Linked DNA regions of Homo sapiens: regions 1 and 3 are each linked to region 2. Evidence: promoter capture Hi-C in 16 types of primary human blood cells and fetal thymus (Javierre and others, 2016). All regions are on one chromosome and are shown on one strand. Each heading gives the region's core, a stretch centred on a gene start or on the middle of the fragment in contact. The rest is flanking DNA. Distances are from core to core; before and after follow the strand shown.

The links. Contacts are between HindIII fragments. The CHiCAGO score rates a contact against its expected background, and 5 or more counts as called.
Region 1: a contact is called between the fragment with the promoter of PIK3R2 here and the fragment with the promoter of BST2 in region 2, in 5 of 17 cell types (naive CD8 T cells, non-activated CD4 T cells, naive B cells and 2 more). The highest score is 8.0, in naive CD8 T cells.
Region 3: a contact is called between the fragment with the promoter of CCDC124 here and the fragment with the promoter of BST2 in region 2, in 12 of 17 cell types (non-activated CD4 T cells, naive CD4 T cells, neutrophils and 9 more). The highest score is 14.5, in non-activated CD4 T cells.

What each region holds. Positions count from the first base shown.
Region 1 is chr19:18,151,079-18,154,545 of GRCh38, reverse strand. PIK3R2 (phosphoinositide-3-kinase regulatory subunit 2) reads right to left here and starts at 1,383. Exons shown (of 16, transcript NM_005027.4): 1 at 1,252-1,383. It overlaps MAST3 (microtubule associated serine/threonine kinase 3), which reads right to left. Exons shown (of 28, transcript NM_001393504.1): 28 at 2,859-3,467. RefSeq lists silencers at 513-732, 1,043-1,422 and enhancers at 1,533-1,812, 1,118-2,010, 2,553-2,632. The HindIII fragment of the contact is 8,629 bases long and covers 1-2,638 here.
Region 2 is chr19:17,403,616-17,407,000 of GRCh38, reverse strand. It overlaps BST2 (bone marrow stromal cell antigen 2), which reads left to right and starts at 1,371. Exons shown (of 5, transcript NM_004335.4): 1 at 1,371-1,710; 2 at 2,564-2,630; 3 at 2,812-2,872; 4 at 3,177-3,321. The coding sequence starts at 1,426. The coding sequence ends at 3,306. It overlaps BISPR (BST2 interferon stimulated positive regulator), which reads right to left and starts at 1,315. Exons shown (of 4, transcript NR_130766.1): 1 at 1,230-1,315; 2 at 705-924. It also overlaps a transcript of MVB12A not described here. RefSeq lists enhancers at 360-409, 610-659, 710-769, 960-1,339, 1,410-1,469 and 1 more. The HindIII fragment of the contact is 7,369 bases long and covers 1-1,490 here.
Region 3 is chr19:17,931,375-17,934,418 of GRCh38, reverse strand. It overlaps CCDC124 (coiled-coil domain containing 124), which reads right to left and starts at 1,404. Exons shown (of 5, transcript NM_001136203.2): 1 at 1,371-1,404. RefSeq lists a silencer at 1,242-1,291 and enhancers at 1,372-1,561, 1,582-1,641, 1,788-2,326. The HindIII fragment of the contact is 21,651 bases long and covers 1-3,044 here.

The sequences.
Region 1 (3,467 bases), core at 134-2,633, 750 kb before region 2:
TAGGGAACAAAGTCCAGGAAGAGGCCTCTACACAAGCAAAGGCCTCGAGGTGAGTCCAAGCAAATGGACCTCCAGTCTCTGCAGAGGAGGAGTGAGTGGGCTGGCAGGTAGCTCCAGCCTGGGGCCCAGAGTAGGCACAAAATGCAGATGGGGAGGTGCTTAGAAGGAACCTTAGCCCCAGGCAGGGACAGGGAGCCAGGAGAAGGTGGGGGTACTGCAGCTGAGGAGGAGGGGAGGCTGCCGGCAGCAGGGCATTGATTATTCCCCAGGAGTCCCAGCCTGGGGAGGCGGAGATAGGCACACATTCCCAGCCTAGCCCTGCGGGTTCAGACGCCCTGTGATGGACAGGGCTAGGGTCGGGGGATGGACGTGCTGTTCTAGAGAATGGATCATCACAGCGGATAGGAAGGCGCGACAGGCAGACGGAACGGCACATGCAAAGCCTTGGCAGTGGGTTAAGTTGCTTGTCAAGGATTCAGGGTGGCTATAAGGATAGGTGCTATCCACCAAGAGGCCCGAGTGTCAGGTGGAGGCTCTGAGCATCCTTCAGTCACGGGGAACCCCAAGAGGTGTCCGAGCAGGGCGGAGGGGCGCCACATTCTCGGGTGCCCAATTTACCCATTCCTAGGCCTCTGTTACCCTCATTCTACAGGTGGGGAAACTGAGGCCCCGAGAGGGGATGCCCAGAAAACCGCCTGGATCTGCCTGCCAGCCCGCCCCCACGCCCCGGTGTGCGCGCCCCGGGAGCAGCGCTCCCCGAATCCGGGAGGCGGGAGGGGCGGGGCAGGCAGGGCTGGGGGCTCCGCGGGTGAAGGCAGGGCCTGAGCGCTCACACAGACGCGCACTTGGGTCTGCGTGGACCCGGCCACCCGGCTAGGGGACCGGAAGTGGGTTCGACCCCCGGCCCTCCCGCACCCCATTCTGCCCCGCACAATGCCTGGGCGCCCCTCGGTACTATTCGAAGCCCCATTCCAGGCAGGGCCTCCCTTCATTTGGGGCCTCGGCTCCAGTCCGGTATCTTGGACGCGGGGAGTCTCTCCCCATTCTGCCCCGACCGTCCCAAGGAGGCTGCACCGCTGCGGAGCCGAGCCCGAGGCCCCCCCTTGCCTGCGGCCCCCCCAGTTCCCGCGGGGCCCGACGCAGCCTGGCGCTTGCGTTCTGGCTTCCACCGGGGCCCGGCACTGCCCCCGGGCGCCCCGCATTTAAGCACACTCCCAGCCGCCCCCGCCACGAGGGCCAGTCAGGACTCACCTGGTCGCGGCCGCCACCGCCGCCGCAGCCGCCGTCACACCAAGCCAAGCCCGCCCCGTGGCTCCACCGCGGCCACCGTCGCCGCAGCCGCGGGATCCCCGCCTCCGCCGCCGCCACGGTTCCGAGCGGCCTGGCCCGCCCCCGGCGGAAATGCCCGAGCGCATTCGAGCCGGGCGGATGAACCGAGGCCGAGGCGGAGCCTGAGGTAAGGGGGCACCCGAGTGTTTCCGGAAGTAGCCGAACGTAATCCCGCGGGACTGGTGGACTAGAGGGTGCCCCCGAGACAGCCGAGCGTTTCCAGAGGTAGCCGAGTGCAATCGGGTCGGCGAGGGATCCGAGACTGGGCTCGGCTGGGCTTAGAGACGCCCGAGCGCTTTCGGAAATGGCCGAACACTCTCTACGGCCGCACTGGCACAACTGAGGCTGATCCCCAAGACCGCGGAGCGTTTCTGGAAATAACCGAATGTGCTCAGTGCCCAATGGAGGCCTTGGGAGTTTAGACCCAGAGGCGACCGCCAGCTTATGGGAATTACTGAAGCATAGATGGTTCCAGGGGACAAATGAGGCGTTCTCAAGCTCAGCAAACAGGGGGCAGTAGAGTGGGGAAAGGGCCTGCCGCAAAAAGCAGAAGTCGGAGAAAGCCAGGGTTGAAGGAGTTTCCATGGCAACCCAGAGCGTCCGGAAACAGCCAACGATCTCGACCCCTACGGGCACTAGAATTTAGCGGACTTGAGCCTAGATGCCGACGGTTTCCGGAAATAGCCGAACGCACTCGGAGATGGGGCTGTAGCCAAGAGTGTTTGCATGCCGGCTGAGCGCCCCGGAAGTAACGGATTGCTCTAGGGCTGGGCCGGGTTCGGCTAGAGGGAGTTTTATGGCAGAGCGCAAGCTAAGACCAGGATAGAAAGGACGCGACGATTGCTTATTTTGTTATTATTTTTTGAGACGGAGTTTCGCTCTTGTTGCCCAGGCTGGAGTGCAATGGCGCTATCTCGGCTCGCCGCAACCTCCACCTCCCGAGTTCAAGCGATTCTCCTGCCTCAGCCTCCCGAGCAGCTGGGATTACAGGCATGCGCCACCACGCCCGGCTAATTTTGTATTTTTAGTAGAGACGGGGTTTCTCCATGTTGGTCAGGGTGGTTTGGAACTCCCGACCTCAGGAGATCCGCCCGCCTTGGCCTTCCAAAGTGCTGGGATTACAGGCGTGAGCCACCGCGCCCCGCCGCTTATTTATTTTATTAACATAGCCCAGGGCGCCCAGGAGGTCGAGGCTGCAATGTGCCGTGATTGCGCCACTGTACTCCAACCTGGGTTACAGAGCGAGACCTTGTCTCAAAAACATAAAAATAAAAAACATAGCTCAGGGCCCAGATGTCTGGAGGAAGCTTTTAAAGGCAGGGCTATGATGGAGTACTCGCAGGGAGAGGGTAGCAGGAGGCTGGTACCAGCGATGGCATCAGGAAGAATCTCAACAGCGAACTGCTATGCAGTCCTCAAAACCCACTTGCAATGACTTTGAGCCATGGGTCTATTTCACTCCGCTCCCCTCCCCACTCTTCCCTTCCTCCTTTCTCAGCCCCTCACAAATCCAGACGTTGGAGCTCATCTTTGTAAATACGGGCTTTTATTCACTGCCAGCTCCAGGATGGAAGGAGGGGGTGAATCATGCACAGCCTTGGTCTACCCTCCAACACTAGGCAGTGCTGGACAGGGGACTCAGAAAGGGAAGCAGAGTGGGCTGTTGATGTCTGGAAAGCTCCCTCACCAGAGTGCCCAGTGGGTCACACAGCATCATGGGGGATGAGCTGGGGCTGGAGTCGGCTGTATCTGACACCAGACCCTCCATTCAAGCTCCCTTGATGACAACGCCCACAACAGGGTCTGGCTGATGCTCCGTTCTGCCACGACTCCTGCTGGGTGATCGTGGGACAGGTCTCCGCCCCTCGCTGGGGTCTCAGCTGCTTTGTCTGTAAAATGGAGGTGATGACACCACCTCCAGCCTTCTCAAGGCTGGCTGAGGGAGAAGCCACGTAAAAGCGCTTGGCACACAGTAGGTGCTTAATAAACAGTCAATGGGATTAGTCTTGTAAACACAAGGAAACTGAGGCACAGAGTGGGAAAGCCATTTTCCCAGAGCCACACAGTGAAGCTGAAATTCAAACTTGAGCCTCGACTGGGTTTTCTGGCTTGAACTTCATCCCAGAGAGGCTCTGACA
Region 2 (3,385 bases), core at 122-2,621:
GTGCTGCTCAAATAAGTCAGCTTAGTCAAATAAGTCAGGCAAAGGTCGTGTCTTTGCACCTGGAGTCCTGGCCAGGCTGGTAGGTCCCTCCTCCTGGGACAAGTTCACCCTCAGAATTTTCAGCAAGATCATCTCCCACAGCTTGTTAATTGGTTCTTGGTTCTAAGTGATTTTTTTGTTTATTGGTTTAAGAGATGGGATCCCACTCTATCACCCAGGCTTGAGTGCCGTGGCACAATCATAGCTCGCTGCAGCCTCAAACTCCTGGGCTCGAGTGATCCTCCTGCCTCAGCCTCCCAGCCTCAGCCTGGGACCACAGGCATGTACCACCATGCCTGGCTCTAAGTGGCTTTAATGGGGTCCTTCTGAGGGATGTTGGAGTCAGGGCCTGGGGGGAGTTCCCCAGGCCTTCTGGGAGGCCTGGGCTCTGGACTTGACCTCGCCTACTGTCTGGCCCTGCTGAAAAGAAAAAAAAACATGGAAATGGCAGACCTAACAGAATCTGGGCTGTGGTCAGGATGTGGCTGAAGAAGCCACAAGAAAAACATGCAGTCCCCTTTCAGCGGTCATGCCCAGCAGTTGGGTGCCGATAATGGGCCTGATTTCCTGTAGGAAGCCCTGGCTCTCTTGGCCACATGGACAGTGTCTGAGGCTGGCCCTGTTATTCCCCTTTGCAGATGAAGAAACAGGCTCAGAGAGTTTACCTGGTATCCTGGAGTCCCAGGAGCACTTTTTCTGGAAGTAGGAGCTTGTTTCCTGCAGGTGCCAAGACAGAGACCGACATTGTTTGTTGGCTGGGTCGGTCTCCCAGTTTTCAGCTGGCTCCAGTCTCACCTGTTGCTCACACACCCTCCATGTCTCCCATAGTCCCCTCGGTGGGGACAGAGGCACTGGATGAAGCCCTGCTCGTCACCACAGAGACACCTGAACACAAAAACCAGTCCCTGGGGTCAGACCCAGGCCCCGCCCCCAGACCCAGGCCCTGCCCTCACTCCACCACGCAACTGTGCAACCTCAGTTTCCCCAGGTGGAGACCGGACCAACAGTGATGGCCTCTGCCTCTTCAGGTCATAGTACAGATGAATACAGGCTGGCACGGCCTAGGCACTCAGTAACACACAGCAGAGGCACAGGGACTTAAGATGGAGTGTCCCAGGCAGCCACAGTTGGCTGGCACCCAGCTGGGAAGGGCCCAAGGGCTTTTAAAGCAGGGTGAAAAAAAAGCCCACCTCCTTTCTGGGAAACTGAAACTGAAAACCTAATTAATCCTCTGCCTGTAGGTGCCTCATGCAAGAGCTGCTGGTCAGAGCACTTCCTGGAACTTGCTATTGGTCAGGACGTTTCCTATGCTAATAAAGGGGTGGCCCGTAGAAGATTCCAGCACCCTCCCCTAACTCCAGGCCAGACTCTAAAGGGGAGATCTGGATGGCATCTACTTCGTATGACTATTGCAGAGTGCCCATGGAAGACGGGGATAAGCGCTGTAAGCTTCTGCTGGGGATAGGAATTCTGGTGCTCCTGATCATCGTGATTCTGGGGGTGCCCTTGATTATCTTCACCATCAAGGCCAACAGCGAGGCCTGCCGGGACGGCCTTCGGGCAGTGATGGAGTGTCGCAATGTCACCCATCTCCTGCAACAAGAGCTGACCGAGGCCCAGAAGGGCTTTCAGGATGTGGAGGCCCAGGCCGCCACCTGCAACCACACTGTGGTAAGCTCCTCAACTCCTTTGGATGGCCTAGTACTAGGCGGTGGGAGGGACAAGAATCTCTCCCCAGAAATCTGACCCAGGGTGGGTCTCCAGGGAGATGCAGGGGAGGTCCTGAAACTGCTCCTGGGCCCCCACATCAAGGGACCTAGGTTCCCCTACCAGGGTTTGTGGGCCCCTAACCCAGTCCAGGGCACTGGTGTAGGGGCAGGGTGTTAAAACTCTCCAGATCCCCCAAATCGGGGACCTCAGTATCCCCCTGGGACTTAGGTGAATTTATAAATTCTTTCCAGGGCACTGGTGTCGGGGGCCTTGAAACTCCTCGTGGGCACCAGTCCTGGGGGAGTAGAAATCCCTATTCAGGGTTGAAGGGGGACCTCACCAGACCCTGAAAAAGGGGGCTTTTGAAATTTTCACTTCATCCCTAAGAAACTGAAATATTCACCTGGGTCCTGATATGGGGGATCTTGAAACTCTCGCTGGGCATGTCACTTGGGCGGGGAAATCCCACTGCATTCTGGATTTGGTAGGGCCCTCTAACTTTTCTTGGGCCATTGCTCAGGCAATCTGGAAATGTCCACTAAACTTTGGTTATCGATAGCCTCCAAGTTTCCACGTGGGGTGGCCTCAAAACTCCCATTTTGAGGACCCACATGCTTATGGGTGGCCCTGGGAGAGTGTGTGGTTGTGGCTGTTCTTTAAGGTTGGAGACCATGGTGCAGAGAGGGTTGGAAGAAAACCTGAAAGGGGTTTGCATTTAAGCCCCTCTGTCCCCAGGACCTAGGGAGGAGGCCCAGGTCCCAGGGGCAGCAGCCAAACTCCCCAGGCCAAAACCCCAGATTCTAACTCTTCTTAGATGGCCCTAATGGCTTCCCTGGATGCAGAGAAGGCCCAAGGACAAAAGAAAGTGGAGGAGCTTGAGGGTGAGAAAGGGAGAAGGGAGAGGGCCGGGGAGGGGTGAGTCAGGTATGGAAGAGGGGGTGGGGGCAGGGAGACCAGGGCTGGAGGTTGGGGTAAGGGGGAGGTTCTGTCCCAGAGTGGAGCAGGGCCCCAGCATGGCCACATGCTGACCCGCCCCCTGTTTCTGTCCTCCCACCCTACCAGGAGAGATCACTACATTAAACCATAAGCTTCAGGACGCGTCTGCAGAGGTGGAGCGACTGAGGTCAGAGATAGCCTTCCCCCGCTACCCTCCACCTGCCACATTCCTCTCACCCCCACATCCCTAGCCCAAGACCCAGGATCTCCTTTGCTCCCAAAATCCCCATTGCCCCAAGGGATAAAGTTTGAGTCCCACAAAAGGATAACTTAGCCCCTAGGGTCACAGAGCCATGGGTGGCCGCTGTCCATTCCCTCCCCGGTGACTTGGATTGGGGCGGTGCGGGGGGAACTCCCGGGGGCGGTGGGCTTACAGGGAGGGCGGCAGGAGCCAGGACGAGCAGATGCCTGATTTGCCATCTGTACCGCAGAAGAGAAAACCAGGTCTTAAGCGTGAGAATCGCGGACAAGAAGTACTACCCCAGCTCCCAGGACTCCAGCTCCGCTGCGGCGCCCCAGCTGCTGATTGTGCTGCTGGGCCTCAGCGCTCTGCTGCAGTGAGATCCCAGGAAGCTGGTCAGTGAGGAGGGGGCGGCCCCGGGAGGGAGAAGAAAGCTGGGGAAGCGGGGCGGGGAAGCAG
Region 3 (3,044 bases), core at 155-2,654, 530 kb before region 2:
GGCTGTTTCCACGTTGGGGCTTTTTTTTGTTTTGAGACGGAGTTTTGCTCTTTCACCCAGGCTGGAATGCAGTGGCACAATCTCGGCTCACTGCAACCTCCACCCACCCGGTTCAAGCAATTCTCCTGTTTCAGCCTCCCAAGCAGCTAGGATTACAGGCACCTGCCACCACGCCCGGCTAATTTTTGTATTTTTATAGAGATGGGGTTTCACCATGTTGGCATGTGCCACCATGCCTATCTGATTTTTGTATTTTTAGTAGAGACGGGGTTTCACTATGTTGGCCAGGCTGGTCTCAAACTCTTGACCTCAAGTGATCCGCTTGCCTCGGCCTCTCAAAGTGCCTGGATTACAGGTGTGAGCCACAGTGCCTGGCAATTTCTGCTGTTTAAGCCACCCAGTCTGTGGTATTAGTTATGACAGCCCAAGCTGGAAATACAGACACTTTTCTCTGTGTAGTAAACACTCACTCACTTGCACACGTCATTCAATAAATATGTACTGGGCACCTAATACGTGTGCGATGCTGGGGAAAGAGGTGGCACAAATGAGCTTTCTGCCTGCATGGGACTCCCAGAGAAGAGCCAACACATGCAATCAGAGTCCTAATAAGGACACGCAGGGCGCCGGGGAAGCCCGGAGAGGGCTTCTGACCCAGCCTGGGTCAAAGGGCTTCCTAAAGGAGACATCTAAGGAAAAGTCTGAATGAGTGGGGGAGAGCGCAGCCTGCACGCGGGATGCAGGAGGTAGGCTGGAAAAGGGGGCGATTTGTATTCCAGGGAGATGGGAAGGTGTGGAGGGCGTTAGAGCCGGGAAGCCCAATCTATGGGTCACACAAGCCCTCTGGGGTTAGTGAGGAGGTGGACTCCCCAGATGGCAGGAGCTGGGAGCCCAGGCGGTACCCAGGGAGTGGCTCAGGCTGGGCGAGGGGCACACTTAGAAGCGAATCAAGACCCATGGGGATTAAGACCCCACGGATGTGAAGGTAAAATAACAGAATACAAAATTCAACAATGCCTCCTCTAAGCAGCCCTCCCGGCTATCCCTTTTGAAGTCCCCCACCACTAATCCCCCTACAAGAGGCCGGGGGAGTCCGCGCCCAACTCTGTCCCTCTCGAGACCAGAAGCTGCCTAGGGGCAGTCCGGGGCCAGGTGGCCTCGAACATGCTGTCGCGTCGGGCTTCAATCGTCTAGTCTGGAAATGGGCATCGCCCCCAACTAGGTGCGGTTCAGACTGGACGCCAGAAGTGCTCCTGCCTCCCAGCACCCCTCCTCCAGCCTTCCCAGGGGATGGTCCCAGGCCAAGCAGCCCCCGCCCCGCGCCTCTGCTCCCCGAACCCGGGTTCCGCCCGCGCCGCAGACGCTCCTACCTTCTTACCCCAGCGCCGGCCCGGTCGCGCCTCCGTGACGTCATCATGGGGCCTGCGCGCTGAGCTCCTGGCGGCGCGCACTCATTGCGCCTCAGTACCGCCGCCATTTTGGTAAAGAAAAAGATGGCTGGGCCTCGGACCCAAGCCAGGGTAGTCAGCCACTTCTTTGTCTCTTCAAAAAGAGGACACTTAATACGCCCTCATTCCCTACGCTCATTTAATATGTTGATGAACCAGGAGGGGCGGGCAGAGGCGAAAATCTAGAACATTGCCTTTACCAAGATGGCCGATGCCCGGATGAAAGATGGCAGCTGCGACTACACACGTGGTCCGGCGGCTTCAGCCTGGAGCGGCCCGGCCGCCAGAGCGCGCCCGCGGTCCATGAGGGGAGGTGGACCCAGTATAGCCCTGAGGAAGCCTCTCCGTAGCTCTTCGCAATCCCTTAACGCTTTAAAAGTGCTTTCCTAGTCCTGAGTCTCTGCGTCCCACTGGTGACGCTGGGGCGGGGCTAGGAGAGGGGAGATAAATGGGGCAGAGAAATTAACACACACCGCGCAGTCCAGGTAGGGAAACCGAGGCTCAGAGAGACCAGGAATTGAGTTTGGCCAAAATGTAACCGCGAGTAGGCTCATAACCGCGAGTAGGCTCAAATTCCGTCTCTTGCTCCTGCCAGTGCCTCTTCCTGGATTGCTGACCTGCTCCCCACTTCTGCAATATTATTTATTAATTTTATTTAGAAATTAGGTTTGAGGCGCCAATTTGTCTTAGGCACTATACTTTAGATTTTCTGCATTTACTACTTCTCGGTGTTCTCAACAGTAAAAATGGCAGTATTAGGGGTCTAAGGTTACACTGGTCCTGACTGTGGAGAGGGAAAAGCAAATGCTTTGGGGGCAGTTCAGGTAGGAGTAGTTGACCACAGAGTCCATTCCCTAAAAGGCATCCCCCCAGCGACCTTGCTGGGACCTAAATCCCAGTGCGCGATGCACCTCCCCTGCTCTAACGCCTCCCCTGGGTTCCCATTGTCCCGCAAGACTCCTCCCACCTCCCACCCCATCTCCCTTGGCTTCCCTCACCCTCCCATTAGCTCTCTGCTCAGGTCGCACCAGCCCCCTTCTTACAAATTGCCAGGCGCAGTCTTGCCTCAGGGAGTTCCCCCAGGAATTTCCCAGGTTTTTCCGTGGCCAGTTCCTTCCCTTCAGGCATGAGACAGAAAGGTCTCTGGGTGCAGGGGGCTTAAAGTCGGAAAATCACATGAAAGATTATTATCCTGGCTGGTCGCAGTGGCACATGCCTGTGATCCCAACCCTTTGGAAGGCTAAGGTGGGAGGATCGCTTGAGGCCAGGTGTTTGAAAGCAGCCTGGGCAACATTATGAGACCCCATCTCGACAGAAGATAAAAACATTAGCTGGGCGTGGTGGCATGCTCATCCTCCCATTCAAGAGAATCACTTGAGCCCAGAAGTTGGAGGGTGCAGTGAGGTATGATAGCGCCACTGCACTCCAGCCAGCCTGGGTGAAGGAACCTCTCTTAAAAAATACTAATAAAGGCCAGGCATGGTGGCTCACGCCTGTAATCCTAGCACTTTGGGAGGCCGAGCCAGGCAGATCACCTGAGGTCAGGAGTTTGAGACCAGTCTGACCAACATGGTGAAACCCTGTTTCTACTAAAAA